Linked DNA regions of Homo sapiens: regions 2 and 3 are each linked to region 1. Evidence: promoter capture Hi-C in human tissues and cell types (Jung and others, 2019). All regions are on one chromosome and are shown on one strand. The core of a region is centred on a gene start or on the middle of the fragment in contact, and the rest is flanking DNA. Distances in the headings are between cores, read along the strand shown.

Region 1 (4,552 bases), core at 1,099-3,598:
TATTTATTTAGAGATCTCGCTCTGTCACCCAGGCTGGAGTGTAGTGGCATGTTCAGACCTCATTGCAGCCTTGAACTCCTGGTCTCGAGTGATCCTCCCACCCCAGCCTCCCAAGTAGCTGGGACTACAGGCACTCGCCACCAGGCCTAGTTAATTTTTGTATTTTTTTGTAGAGATGGGGTCTCACTGTGTTGCCCACGCTGGTCTCAAACACCTGGGTTCAAGTGATTCATCCACCTCAGCCTCTTCAAGCATTGGGATTACTGAACTAAGACACTGCAGTTGGCCTCGTTTAACTCTAGTAGAAATATCCATGCAGGAAGTATGTGGGAATCGGGGCAGCAGGGACTCCAAGCAGGCACCCCAGAATTTCTTCTGGGCTGTTCCTTCCCTGACTCCTGCAATTAGTCCTGCTTTTCCTTTGGCTCTGACTTGCTTCGTCCTTTGGAATTCATTCTCGATGTTTCCCCACACTCATCTCTTTTCTTGGTTGTATTCCCTTGGGACTGTTGGCTCAGGTTTGGGGATTTATTATGTTTAAAACTTCAGCCTCTGTTTGGCTTCCTGGCACCAGGCTTTGTACTTCCTGCTCCTTGAATCTGGTAACTCCTATCCCCACCTCCTTTCTGCCTACTCAAAGCTTCCAGTCTTTGGTGTTGGACAATCCCTGGATGATGACCAATCTCGTATGTCCTAAGGTATACAATAAAAAATACCAGGGTCAACAATCAACAGGCATCTCTTTCTTGGGCCCATCTTGTTCTAGTGTCCCAGACATTCCAGTGTAGGCTTAGATATAGATGGAAGTGTTCTAGTGTTTATGATGGACACCTGTTGAAAAGACCAAGTCTACCATGGCTGAGGTAGCTATGGAGGGTTTTACGTATTAACACAATGGTGAGGGTATCTTTACTGGTGTGAGCACAGTTCCACTGTATGGATGATCGTGATGCTGGAGTGGTCGATGGTTGGTACCTCCAGTGCCAGCTGGGGATTTATGGATGAACACAGGTGAGTAGTCAAGTGGGAAAAATGGCAGCATTCAGTTCATCTTCCTATTCTTCCTCCAGGTGTCTTCTTAGAATCAGGATCAGGTGCAAACCCAGGGGGGTTCCTGTAGCAGCAGTGAAAATTCCAGTGCCTAAGCTATATATGTTCAAGCAGGTCAGGTGGATGTCGCATGCGTCAGTTTGACTACAGCAGAACCATGAGAGATGTTTCCTTTAGAGTTGGCCCACAAGACAGTCTGGCTGCAATCCACAGGCCACAGACAACTGGAGGGAGTGGATCTCTCCCAGTTTCCTTCCACTTAGCATGAAAGCCTCAGAATAAGCAGCCCAGGGAGCAGAGAGACTGACATTAAAGCCTGCAATTCCTCTTCCAATTTTGATCACAGCAGCCATTTAAACACAGGGTCTACCGAGGTTTAAAAAACTTGAACTGTGCTTAGTTGCACTCTGAAATAGTCCTGCTCCTCCCCTGACCTACGAGAGACAGCAAAGAGACGTGTCAATAGCCTCCGCATGAGGCTTCAGAGGAGCAGCTGTGTATGGCAGGACGGAACAAAACCTGCCCATAGTATCTTTTACGACAACATGTTTCCACTTAATGCAGACCACTGAAAAGAATGTGGGAGCTTTTAAAAAAAAATTATTATAAACATAGGTTTGTGACCTTGATGTGGAAGGCAGCTAGAATCTCTGCTTTTAGAGGGCTAAGCAACACCAGGCAGCCTTCAATCTTAGAAGGGTTAAGCTGAAAGGGTCTCAAAAGGTCACGTGGTTTATATAATCCTACCTGCAGAAGACCCCCCCCCCCGCCAGGCACAACGATTTTACAGACGAGGAATGTGAGGTGCGGAGAGGTTAAGGAAGGATTTATCTTATTTGCATAAGGAGTGGAAGAACTGAAACCGAAGCCCCAGTTCCTTGACTGTAAATCCCGCACTTGCTTCCAACTGTCTTTCATCCAGATTATGGGATTCAGCTGCCTCTGAAAACCTGTAGCCCAATAATGGTTATTCCCCAGGAGCCGCGCGAAGCATGAGCTAATTTTCAGTGAGCGCGGACTTTGGGGTAACGGTTCCAGCACAGCACATCCCTTTCTCCTCTTTTCACTCATCGTCACCGCTACCTGAAAACCCTGGCCGGGTGCTGGGGCTTGAGGAGCAGTTCCCACTTCCCAGTCTTTTTCACTTTTCACAGCTGCAAAGTTCAGGGAGTTGAACTGCAGTGCTTTCAGTTCACTGCTCACTCTGCCACGATCAATCTCTGTTGTAAATTTTCCTCCCAGAGCACGTGACGATGCACTTCTTGACTATATATCCCAACTGCAGCAGCGGAGTTGTCAGAGCGCAGAGCCGGACAGAGCAGAAGAACCCTCTTGGACTGGACGATTTGGGAATTCAAAACTTGGGACAAACTGTCAGCCTTGGTAAGTCAGCAAGGCTACACTTTGCTTTCAGAAACATTTGAAAGAGGGACATTTTTGCCAATTAATAGATGAATTTTTTTCCTTTATTTTCTTCCTGCTTTTCTTTGTTCTAAGGAAACATTGTTTTGAATTTAAAATAGTTTGGTTTTGGAAACACAATGTAAACTTTGTTTCTGCTCAGTTAAAATACGTTTCCCAGTTTTAAAGATACTATTTACTGTATGCTCCTGTCTTACATTGATTTTTTTTTTAATCAAAGTAATACTGCTCACTACAAACAGGACAAATGTGTACACTAAAAAAAAAAAAAAAAGTCCTTCTTACTTTTCCCAGTGAACCTTCCCGGGCTTCTCTCCCGTGCACTCCAAGCCCTCATAGCTCACTCTTGTCAGCTGTTTGGCGAACCCTCTTATGCTATTTCTTTCATGCACTTTTAAGCTTTTTTGGTATTGCAGTTCCACAAACCTCGTGCTCCCCCACCTCCCTGTGCCCAGGACCTGGGGGAGAGTTCTAACCTGCGGCTTTTTCCCCAGCCCCTGCTGTGGAGGCAGCCTCAATGCTGAAAATGGAGCCTCTGAACAGCACGCACCCCGGCACCGCCGCCTCCAGCAGCCCCCTGGAGTCCCGTGCGGCCGGCGGCGGCAGCGGCAATGGCAACGAGTACTTCTACATTCTGGTTGTCATGTCCTTCTACGGCATTTTCTTGATCGGAATCATGCTGGGCTACATGAAATCCAAGAGGCGGGAGAAGAAGTCCAGCCTCCTGCTGCTGTACAAAGACGAGGAGCGGCTCTGGGGGGAGGCCATGAAGCCGCTGCCTGTGGTGTCGGGCCTGAGGTCGGTGCAGGTGCCCCTGATGCTGAACATGCTGCAGGAGAGCGTGGCGCCCGCGCTGTCCTGCACCCTCTGTTCCATGGAAGGGGACAGCGTGAGCTCCGAGTCCTCCTCCCCGGACGTGCACCTCACCATTCAGGAGGAGGGGGCAGACGATGAGCTGGAGGAGACCTCGGAGACGCCCCTCAACGAGAGCAGCGAAGGGTCCTCGGAGAACATCCATCAGAATTCCTAGCACCCCCGGGACCCCTGCCGGTGGCTCCATCAGCCAGCAACCTTAGAGAGAGGAAAGACAGTTTTCAAGTGTCTGGTTTCACTTTCACAGTGCGGCTGCCACTTTGAAGAGACCCTTGGTAAACCCCTGATTCGGGGTGGGGTGGGGGACTAGGCTCAGCCGGAACCAGCACCTCCAAGGAGTCCGGGAGGTGCCTGTGGTTTGCACCCACCACTGAAAAAGCCGCGGAGATGCGCAGCGCGTACACTGACTTTGGGGCCTGGGTGTTGGGGTTCTGATCAGAATTTGGCGGGATGATATGTTTGCCATTTTCTCACTGGATGCCCTGGGTAGCTCCTGCAGGGTCTGCCTGTTCCCAGGGCTGCCGAATGCTTAGGACACGCTGAGAGACTAGTTGTGATTTGCTATTTTGCCTAGAGCTTTGTCCTTCTAGATCTGATTGGCTGTAAGTATCTCTACTGTGTACCTGTGGCATTCCTTCACAGTGGGTTACAAGCTTCTTTTGGATTAGAGGGGGATTTTTGATGGGAGAAAGCTGGAGATCTGAACCCAGCCCATTTGCACACTATAAGAAAAAAAAGTAACTTTTAAACCTGTTAACATTGGCCGGGGTTATAAGAGATGATCTTCTATTTTGACCTTTTGTCTAACTTATGACCTTGAACTCTGACCTGTGACCATGCAGCATCACATGATGGCATGACGTTCTTTGGATCAGAAGAGCTTCCCCAGAATCTAACCTGCACTCCCGATGGTGGTTCAGGAGACTCTTCCTGATCTTTCTAGAAGGGGTAAAGTGGGGTTGAACAAGGCCAAGCCGTTAGCTCTGCTGCTGCTCAGTTTCCCAGCCTAGTTTTCTGAGCTGGGAGAGGACATAATGTGGTATTTCGTCACGTAGCTGAGACCTAGAAGGGCATACTCAGGCGGAGATTGCACAAAGCTGGGCTCCAAGTTCTGTGCTTCCTGATCCCGAGCCCTGACACTCATTTGCTGTGTGGTCCCGGGCATGTCATCAAGAAGCTCGCTGTCTGCATGAGGCTCCCGACGATC
Region 2 (4,552 bases), core at 901-3,400, 190 kb after region 1:
GTGTTTATAGTATTTGCTGATGGTTGTTTGTATTTCTGAGGGGTCAGTGGTGACATCCCTATTATCATTTCTGATTGTGTTTATTTGAATCTTATCTCTTTTCTTCTTTATTAGTCTAGCTAGATGTCTATCTATTTTATTAATTTTTTCAAAATCCAGCTTCTGGATTCACTGATTTTTTGAAGTGTTTTTTTGGTGTCTCCATTTCCTTCAGTTTGGCTCTGATCTTGGTTATTTCTCATCTTCTTCTAGCTTTGTGGTTTGTTTGCTCTTGGTTCTCTAGTTCTTTTTGTTGTGATGTTAGGTTGTTAACATGAGATTTTTGTAGGTTTTTGATGTGAACATTTAGTGCTATAAATTTCGCTGTTAACACTGCTTTAGTTGGGTCCCAGAGATTCTGGTATATCGTATCTTTGTTCTCATTAGTTTCAAAGAACTTCTTGATTTCTGCCTTAATTTCATTATTTACCCAAGAGTCATTCAGGAGCACATTATTCAATTTCCACATAGTTGTGTGGTTTTGGGTGAATTTCTCAGTCTGGATTTTGAATTTGATTGTGCTGTAGTCTGAGAGACTGTTTGTTATGATTTCAGTTCTTTTGCATTTGCTGGGGAATGTTTTACTTTCGATTATGTGATCAATTTTAGAGTAAGTGCCATATGGCAATGAGAATAATGTATATTCTGTTGAATTTGGGTAGAGAATTCTGTAGATATCTATCAGGTCCACTTGATCCAGAGTTCAGTTCAGGTACTTAATATCTTTGATAATTTTCTCTCTCTATGATCTGTCTAATATTGTCAGTGAGGTGTTAAAGCCTCCCACTATTATTGTGTGCAAGTCTAAGTCTATTTGAAGGTCTCTAAGAGCTTGCTTTATGAATCTGGGTGCTCCTGTATTGGGTGCATATATATTTAGGATAGTTCGCTTTTTTGTTGTTGAATTGAACTCTACCTTTATGTCCTTTATGTAACTCACTTTTTTGTCTTTTTTGATGTTTGTTGGCTTAAAGTCTGTTTTGTTAGAAACTAGGATTGCAACCCTTGCTTTTTTCTGTTTTCCATTTGCTTTGTAAATTTTCTTCCATCCCTTTATTTTGAGCCTATGTGTGTCTTTGCATGTGAGACGGATCTCTTGAAGACGGCATACTGATGGGTCTTGGTTCTTTATCCAGCTTGCCATTCTGTGTCTTTTAATTGGGGGCAGTTAGCCCATTTATATTTAAGGTTAGTATTGTTATGTGTGGATTTGATTCTGTCATCATGATGGTAGCTGGTTATTTTGCAGACTTGTTTACATGGTTGCTTCATAGTGTCACTGGTTTGTGTGCTTCAGTGTGTTTTTCTAGTGGTTGGTAACAGTTTTTGCTTTCCATATTTAGTGCTTCCTTCAGGACCTCTTGTAAGGCAGGTCAGGTGGTAAAAAATTTCCTCAGCATTTGCTTACCTGCAAAGGATCTTATTTCAAATTAAACTTCATAAGTGAAAGAGAAATAAGATCCTTTCAGACAAGGAAATAATGAGGAAATGAAATATGAAATTTGGTGTTAGAAATTTTTTTCTTTAAAAATGTTGAATATTGGCCCCCGATCTCTTCTAGCTTATAGGGTTTCCACTGAGAAGCCTGCTGAGAGTGGCTGGAGGCCCTGGCTGGGAGGCTCCAGCTGGGAGGACCTGTCCCATGAAGAGGAGTGGATTGGGGTCACACTTAAAGAAGCAGTCTGGCCATGCCTTGACAAAAGAGCTATGTCTTGGTGGGGAACTGCTTCTGCCCCTCTTGACTTGGACTCTCCAAGGCCCACAAGTTGAAACGGCTGAGTCGTCCAACTAACCCAGGTGGCAGCCCTCCCCTCTCCAAGGCACTCCATCCCAGGGAGAGATCAGAGCTCAGTCCACAGTCTGTGTGGGTAGGTGGGGCTGGAGGGCCTGGCTGGGAGGTCCCACTCAGTGAAGGAGAATGGATCAGGGCCCCACTTAAAGAAGCAGTCTGGCCATGATCTTACAAAGCTACTGTGCTGTGCTGCTGGGGGGACCCTTCCTTGTCAGAACCACCTGGACTCTCCAAAGCCCACAGGCTGGAATGGCTGAGTAAACCAAACAGCAGAGATGGCACCCAACCCTCCCCTTAGGGTCTCTATCCAGTCTCAGGCAGCCTCTATTCTGTTGCCTGTGTCTGGCTGGAATTCCAAGCCAGTGGGTCTTATCTTGTGAGGTGCCGTAGAAGTGGGGCCTGGAGAATGACACTGCTCAACTCCCTGGATTCCACCCCCTTGCAAAAGGTATATGTGGACCTCCCACCTTGCCTGAGTTCCAGACCTGGATCCCCAGGGATCCTGGGGCTGGAGTATACAAAGCTCCTGGATCTCTGTGTTTGCCTGAGCAGCTACTCTGCCAAGACTCCACACAGTTCTGTATGTTGGAACCAAGCCCCTGGTGGCATGGGTTCACAAGGGGATCTCCTGATCTATGGGTTACAAAGACCTGTAGGAAAAGTGTGGTTTCCTGGGGTTGCACAATAACTCACCAATTCCCTTGGCTGGGGGTAGGGGTTCCCTTGGTGCTGTGTTATTCCTAGGTGGTCTGTCATCCCACCCTGCTTTTCTTCATTCTCTGTGGGTGGAGTTGTTTCCCTAATCAGTCCTGGCATAAGAACCTGGATATTTCAGTTGAAGGTGTCATAGTCACTGTCCCATTTCGTTCCTCCCCATGAGTGTCGTGGACCACAGCTGCTTCTAACTGGCCATCTTAGTCCCTCTCCCTATTTTTAAAAATAATGTTTTATTTGCATGTAGCAAAATTTAAATTGATAAACTTGGTTTCACTAACATGAAATAGACTACATTTACTTATTTTAATGGACTTTGTTTCTTAAAATCTTTTTGTCAAATAATGGTACTTTACACTGTGGGAAGTCTTTGGTGTTCTAGTTAATGATGAAGAAGACAGATATTTCATAAATTTATCACTAAATGTGGTTTAAAATGTTTCTTCTTTTCTGGAGTGTATGTATGCCACCACCAGATGGGGGCAGAGTGATGCAGTGAGACTGGGGAAGAGCACTGTTCGGAAACAACATGGTGGAAATCTAGTTGACTGAAGAGCTTCATGTGTATAAACTCAAGATGTTTTGTTTTATAAATTTCCTTTTATGTAAGCGTAACAAAATATAATAAAATGTAACTACTTAGAGCGAATAAAAAAGTATTCTCCTTAGAAGCCAGATCTGCTGTGACCCATCTGTTTTGTTGCATTTTAGTAGTAATTAAGATCTGAGTTCTTCAGAAGGGCTACAAGAATTGGAATCTAAGCTCTCCTATTACAGTAGTGTTATCTCCTGGCTACTCAACTATTTAGGCCTCAGTTTTTTCATCTTCAGTGAAATGGGATTAATAATGGTTCCTATCTCTCTATATTGTGGTGAGGGCAAAATGAAATAATGTTTGTGGTGAGTAGAGCATAGAGTAACGTTTGATGTATGTTAGTCCTTATTGTTCTTATGGATTCTCTGGTCAGCTACCTCCTTTTGTCCCTTCAAACTCCTAAATCTTGCTTAGAATGCTAGCTTTTATAATTCAATCAAATTAGGTGCATTGTAGCTTTGTGGCAAGTAATGGTCTTCATTTCTGTATAAAAATTATATTTTAATCTGTTGGTCTCTTATATATAAGAGTGTTCTAAATATGAGCCCCCAATCAAAAACCAGAAGCTCTTAACTAAAGATACTGATTTACTGTTAAAATGCTTCTCACGTAGGAAACTCTATGCAGTGATGTGTAACAGGAATTTATTCATTAATGATGGTTAGGGATTCTCTATAGCAGCTCAGAATAAAGGTGGGTCGTGAATGAATAAAAAATTCTATGTACATAGTCTGTAAGGGGAAAATAAGGGTATAGAGAAAGCTTAGGAATAAGATAGGCTTACATTATCATCTCCCCTGGTGGTTAGATATTCTTGGGGTAAACCAATTAGCGATTTAGCTTCAATTTCTTCGGTCACAAAATTACAGCAAAAATACAATACTTAATGCAGATGCTCTCAAAATGTCACTTTATTTACCTTTCACCCACAACCAATTTGCTTTTCCTTTTATTATTTTTGGTCATGACTGGAGTGACCACATAATTTGTAGTTCAAATTGGGACACTTTTGAGAAGGAAAGAGTGTGCTAAAAATAATTGAAATTATTATTACTATTTTTTATAAGACATGGGGGTCTTGCTATATTGCCCAGGCTAGAGTTTAGTGGCTAATCACAGGAGTGATCCCACTACTGATCAACACAGGAGTTTTGACCTGCTCCATTTCCGACCTTGGCTGATTCATCCCTTCTTGGGCAATTTGGTCCGCTCCTGGGAGGACACCATATTAATGCCAAACTTAGGGCAAACACCTGATTGGCATACTGTACTACAGCCCAGATCTCTTGGACTCAGGAGATCCTCCTGCCTCAGCTTCCCAAGAAACTGGGACCACAGGTGTGCACCACCACACTCAGCTGTAATTATATAATTTTTGACATTTATGAACGCAATTATTTTTATTATATTGC
Region 3 (4,552 bases), core at 1,363-3,862, 130 kb after region 1:
TGCAGCCATAAAAAGGAACAAGATCATGTCCTTTGCAGGGACATGGATGGAGCTGGAAGCTGTTATCCTGAGCAAACTAACACAGGAATAGAAAACCAAATACCGCATTTTCTCACTTACAAGTGGGAACTGTACGATGAGAACACATGGACACATGGTGGGGAGCAACATACACTGGGGTCTGTCGGGGGTCAGGGGAGGGAGAGCATCAGGAAGAATAGCTAATGGATGCTGGGCTTAATACCTAGGTGATGAGTTGATCTGTGCAGCAAACCACCATGGCACATGTTTACCTACGTAATGAACTTGCACATCAAGCATGTATCCCGGAATTTAAAATAAAATAAAAGTTGAAGAAAACATAAGTGGGGTTGGTTTGTTTCCTTTACCATAGATAATTTGCTACTGGGTAATCACAGATGTATTTCCCATTACTGACTATCTCAGGTCTTTGATAGCTCATGGAAAACATTATCAATATATATCTTTAAAAAACTATCCTTAATTCTTAGCTATGGACTCTGAAACATTATAGAAGACATGTGGGTTTTCTATTTTCTTTCATGATTAATTAAATAGATATTTGTTGAGTACCTAAAGGGTGCTGGGGATAGAGCAGTAATCAAGACAAAGGGCTGCCCTGTGCAGTTTACATCCTCATGGGAAAGCATAGATGAATATGTCAACAAAGAAATAATGTTTACATGTACTGTTTTATTTTTTAATTATGTCTTCACATGCTACTTATATTGTCCAAATATGAATCTTTATAGTCATAACATAATCATATGAATACATGCCAATCTCTTGGCCCAAGGAATTGGGCCTTATTGATATTAAGAGATGAGTTTAATATTTAATAGATAGAGGAGGTCTTTGGGAACACATTTTTAAAGCAGCAGTGGATTTGGCATGTATTAATATATTTAAACGAAATCAGAAAAGTTATTCTACTTGTACTGAGATAATATAAAATCCATAGTAAAAGGCTAATCCACATTTAATTTATGACAAATGGAGGCATGGCAGAATCATGGGGAAAAGATGGTCTTTTCAATAAACAGTGTTGAGTGAATTAGATATGCTTATGTAAAAAAGGAAATTTGAACCCTACACCACATAGAAAATCAATTACAGATGCATTTAAATTTAATTATAAAAGTAAAACAATAAAGCTTCTAAAGGATAATATAGGAAAACATATTCCTAATTTTGAGGCATGGAAAGATTTTTTAAATAGGATACAAAACCACTAATATCACGGGAAAATCAAATAAATTACATTAAAAGATGATTTTTTTGTTCTTCAAAGAACGCTGCTGAGAAGGTTAGAGAAAATAAGCAATAAGGTGGAAGATGATAGTTGCTATATATAAACCAACAATGGGCTTTATACAGGATGAATAAAGAATTTCTACAAATTCAAAAAAAGAAAGACAAGCCAACAAAAATGGAGGGGGAACAGATGTCAACAGCCACTTCACAAAGGAGGGTTTAAAAATAATCAATAGGCATTTGAAAAGGTGCTCACCCTCATTAACAATAGGAAATATAAATGACAACCATGATGAGATATTTCAATGAGTCACCTCTAAAGAATAATCAGACTAGGTAAAATAACAAAGAATGACCTGGCCGGGCGTGGTGGCTCATGCCTATAATCCCAGCTCTTTGGGAGTCCGAGGTGGGTGGAACACTTCAGGTCAGGAGTTTGAGACCAGCCTGGCCAACATGGTGAAACTCCATTTCTACTAAAAATACAAAAATTAGCCGGGCATGGCTGTGGGCACCTGTAATCCCAGCTACTCAAGAGGTTGAGGCAGGAGAATTGCTTGAACCCAGAAGGCGGAGTTTGCAGTGAGCTGAGATTCCGCCACTGCACTCCAACCTGGGCAACATAGTGAGACTCCATCTCAAAAAAAAAAAAAAAAAGAAAAAAAAAAGAATTAGCAAGCTGTAATATGTTAATACAATGCAGTAGCATACAGCAGTGAAAATTAATCTATAGGAACACACAACCACTAGATAAATCTGCAAAACATAGTATTAAGCAAAAGAAGTCATACAAATAAGAAAACATCTTATGTGACTTTACTTGAACTTCAAAAATTAGGCATGAGAAATCTAAGGAGCTAAAAGTCAGGTGCATAGTTATGTGTGGGGAGGAGGAAGTCAGTGTTCTATATCTTGATCTAGGTGATGATTGCACAGGTATATTCACCATGTAATAATTCATTGATCTATATACTTATAATTTGTGCTTTCTATTCTGAATATATGATAGTTTACTTTTAAAATTTTTAAATGATTTTCAATTTCCCAGGGGAAGATTTGTTTTGAAGACACCTTGAGAATGGTCAATATGTAATTACCTTAGTTCCCTAACTTTTATCTTATACTCCACCTTGGGGCTGAGAGGGAAACGTGAAAAATTTGAATTCTTAACACTATCTGTAGTTCTTAGATTTCATAATCGTCCCAGATTTTTTACTTTCAGATAATCCCTTGCTTGTATTTTCCAACAATACATGATAAATTATAGACAAATACAATCTCATTTTCTCCATTTAAACTAATGTCTTTATTGCCAATCATTTCTGAACCAGCCAACTGTGGTAGAACTGATGAAATAGTATCCCACTTATAATAAATATGTGTTTTTCATTAAAGAGACCCAGACAATCTTGTTTTATTTCCTGCAAACTGATGTGATTTGTTTCTTCATGAAGTTAGAAACTGCTACAGAGCTAATTTATAATAAAAATTAGGAAAAAGTATTTAGCCAAACTTTCAAAAGGCATTTTCCTACCAGGGCATATGTTGAACAAACTGAATCTGTAGCTACTTTTTTGGATTATCTTAATCCAGCATCAAAGGGGTCAGTGGGGCAGGTCTAACAGGTCCATGATGGCTTAGGTCTTTGATTAGAGACTTAAGTCAGCAAGCTTGGAAGGAAAAGATGCCTGAATTTAATTTTGTCTTTCCATGGCAATGGCTGGCTTTGACTTCTCTTCAGTGGTACTTCTGGTTGTTCTGTTAGAGTTTTTGATTTCCCAAACCAAAGTGATGGTGGGGAGACCATGAAAGTACCTAAGCCCAGACTGCAATATCAATAAACATCCTCAAAGCATTTGTAGGCAGGTGGTAAATGGTTCACCTTTGAGTTATAAACTACTAGAAGAATGCTTGTGTGTATAGGAAGAGGACTTCAGGAGCTTGTCTAGGCATGTCATCTTTCTAGGTTTTGCTGGGACTGCATGAAGCCAGATTTCAAGTTCTTTTAGCAGTCCCACTGACAAGATTGGGTTATCTCAAAAAAGGCAGGCAGATTCCCATGATGCTGGAGCCCTTCACAGAGAGATTTTGTTGGGACGACAGCCACTTTTCTCACCAAATTCCAGCCCGGCTTCCGAGTGTTACCAGCGGCAAATCTGTGGGAGTCTGCAGCAAACTTGAGCCTTGCCTCCTCAGAGGAGAGAATTTGACCGATGGGCAGAAGTAAGTTTAAGGCAGAGGGAAAAATCAAGGCAAGTTTTTAGAGCAGGAGTGAAAGTTTATTAAAAAGTTTTAGAACAGGAACAAAAGGAAGTCAAGTACACCTGGAAGAGGGACAAGCAGGTGACTTGAAAGATCCAAGTGCCCTGTTTGGCCCTGGGCTTGGGGTTTTATGCAGTGGCATGGTTCTGGGGTTTGTTTCTCCTCCCTTGATTTTCCCCTTGGGGTGGACTGTGCACATCCACAGTGGCCTGCCAGCACTTGGGAGGGGCTGCATGTTCAGTGTGTTTATTGCAGTTGTGTGCATGTTCACTTGAGGCATTTTTCCCTTACCAGGTGAGTGTTCCCAGAGGAAGGTCATCTACTGGTTAAACTCTGCCATTTCACCTCTTCATGCACATCCTTGAGCCTGCTTGCCCTGGTCTTGAGATCTTATTGGGAAGCTGCTGCTCACCAGGTTCAGGTGTTTTCTATCTATTGAGAGACTTTTTTTTTTTTTTTCTGGCACTGGCTATGACAAATTATTATTTTACAGAGAGAGTCTAACAACCAACAGCCTGATCATCCAGGATGGTTACCTGACATTCCTAAGGGAGGAGGGCCTCTCTTGCCCTGCTCAAGTCTGCCTAATTATCTACTCTGGCTCAATGTGCCACTGCCCTCTTGCTTAGCATGAGGCTTTCCTTTTCTCCAACTCATATTTGAAGGTCCTTCTTATTCAAAATTTGATCCAAACATCAGCAGTGTCTAACTGGGGATTTGTTGGAAATGCTTTCAGTTAATCTACAGATTTTGAAATTCTGTTAATTGCTTCAAAAGATGGAGGAAATCCCTACATCAGAGAGTTTTGACACTGTTAGTCACTCACTGGTTAAATAAAAATGTTATATTTAAACCCCTATTTTGGGAGTTGAAACATAGAACATTATTTGAAAAGTTATACATGGGCTTCAGATATATTTTGCACCTAGTTTCATTTTTCTGGAATTTGCAGAAGGGATTATTATGTGATTCTAGGGGCAGAAAAATAAATTTCATGAATTTCACTCAAGTCCGT

What was found. The method cuts DNA at HindIII sites, captures the fragments that hold promoters and counts their contacts. A contact is called where the count stands out against the background at its distance.
Region 2: a fragment that was not itself captured here is called in contact with the fragment with the promoter of KCNE4 in region 1 in 3 of the 25 tissues and cell types used here (liver, mesendoderm cells and thymus).
Region 3: a contact is called between a fragment that was not itself captured here and the fragment with the promoter of KCNE4 in region 1, in 2 of the 25 tissues and cell types used here (H1 embryonic stem cells and thymus).

Annotation. Positions count from the first base shown.
Region 1 is chr2:223,049,842-223,054,393 of GRCh38, forward strand. KCNE4 (potassium voltage-gated channel subfamily E regulatory subunit 4) reads left to right here and starts at 2,349. Exons shown (of 2, transcript NM_080671.4): 1 at 2,349-2,433; 2 at 2,967-4,552. The coding sequence starts at 2,990. The coding sequence ends at 3,502. RefSeq lists an enhancer at 2,657-3,204. The HindIII fragment of the contact is 5,924 bases long and covers 1-3,434 here.
Region 2 is chr2:223,244,296-223,248,847 of GRCh38, forward strand. It overlaps the pseudogene RN7SL807P. Among named protein-coding and RNA genes, the nearest start is that of KCNE4, 190 kb to the left of the region's middle. The HindIII fragment of the contact is 5,048 bases long and covers 1-4,552 here.
Region 3 is chr2:223,184,234-223,188,785 of GRCh38, forward strand. No RefSeq gene overlaps it. Among named protein-coding and RNA genes, the nearest start is that of KCNE4, 130 kb to the left of the region's middle. The HindIII fragment of the contact is 5,685 bases long and covers 1-4,552 here.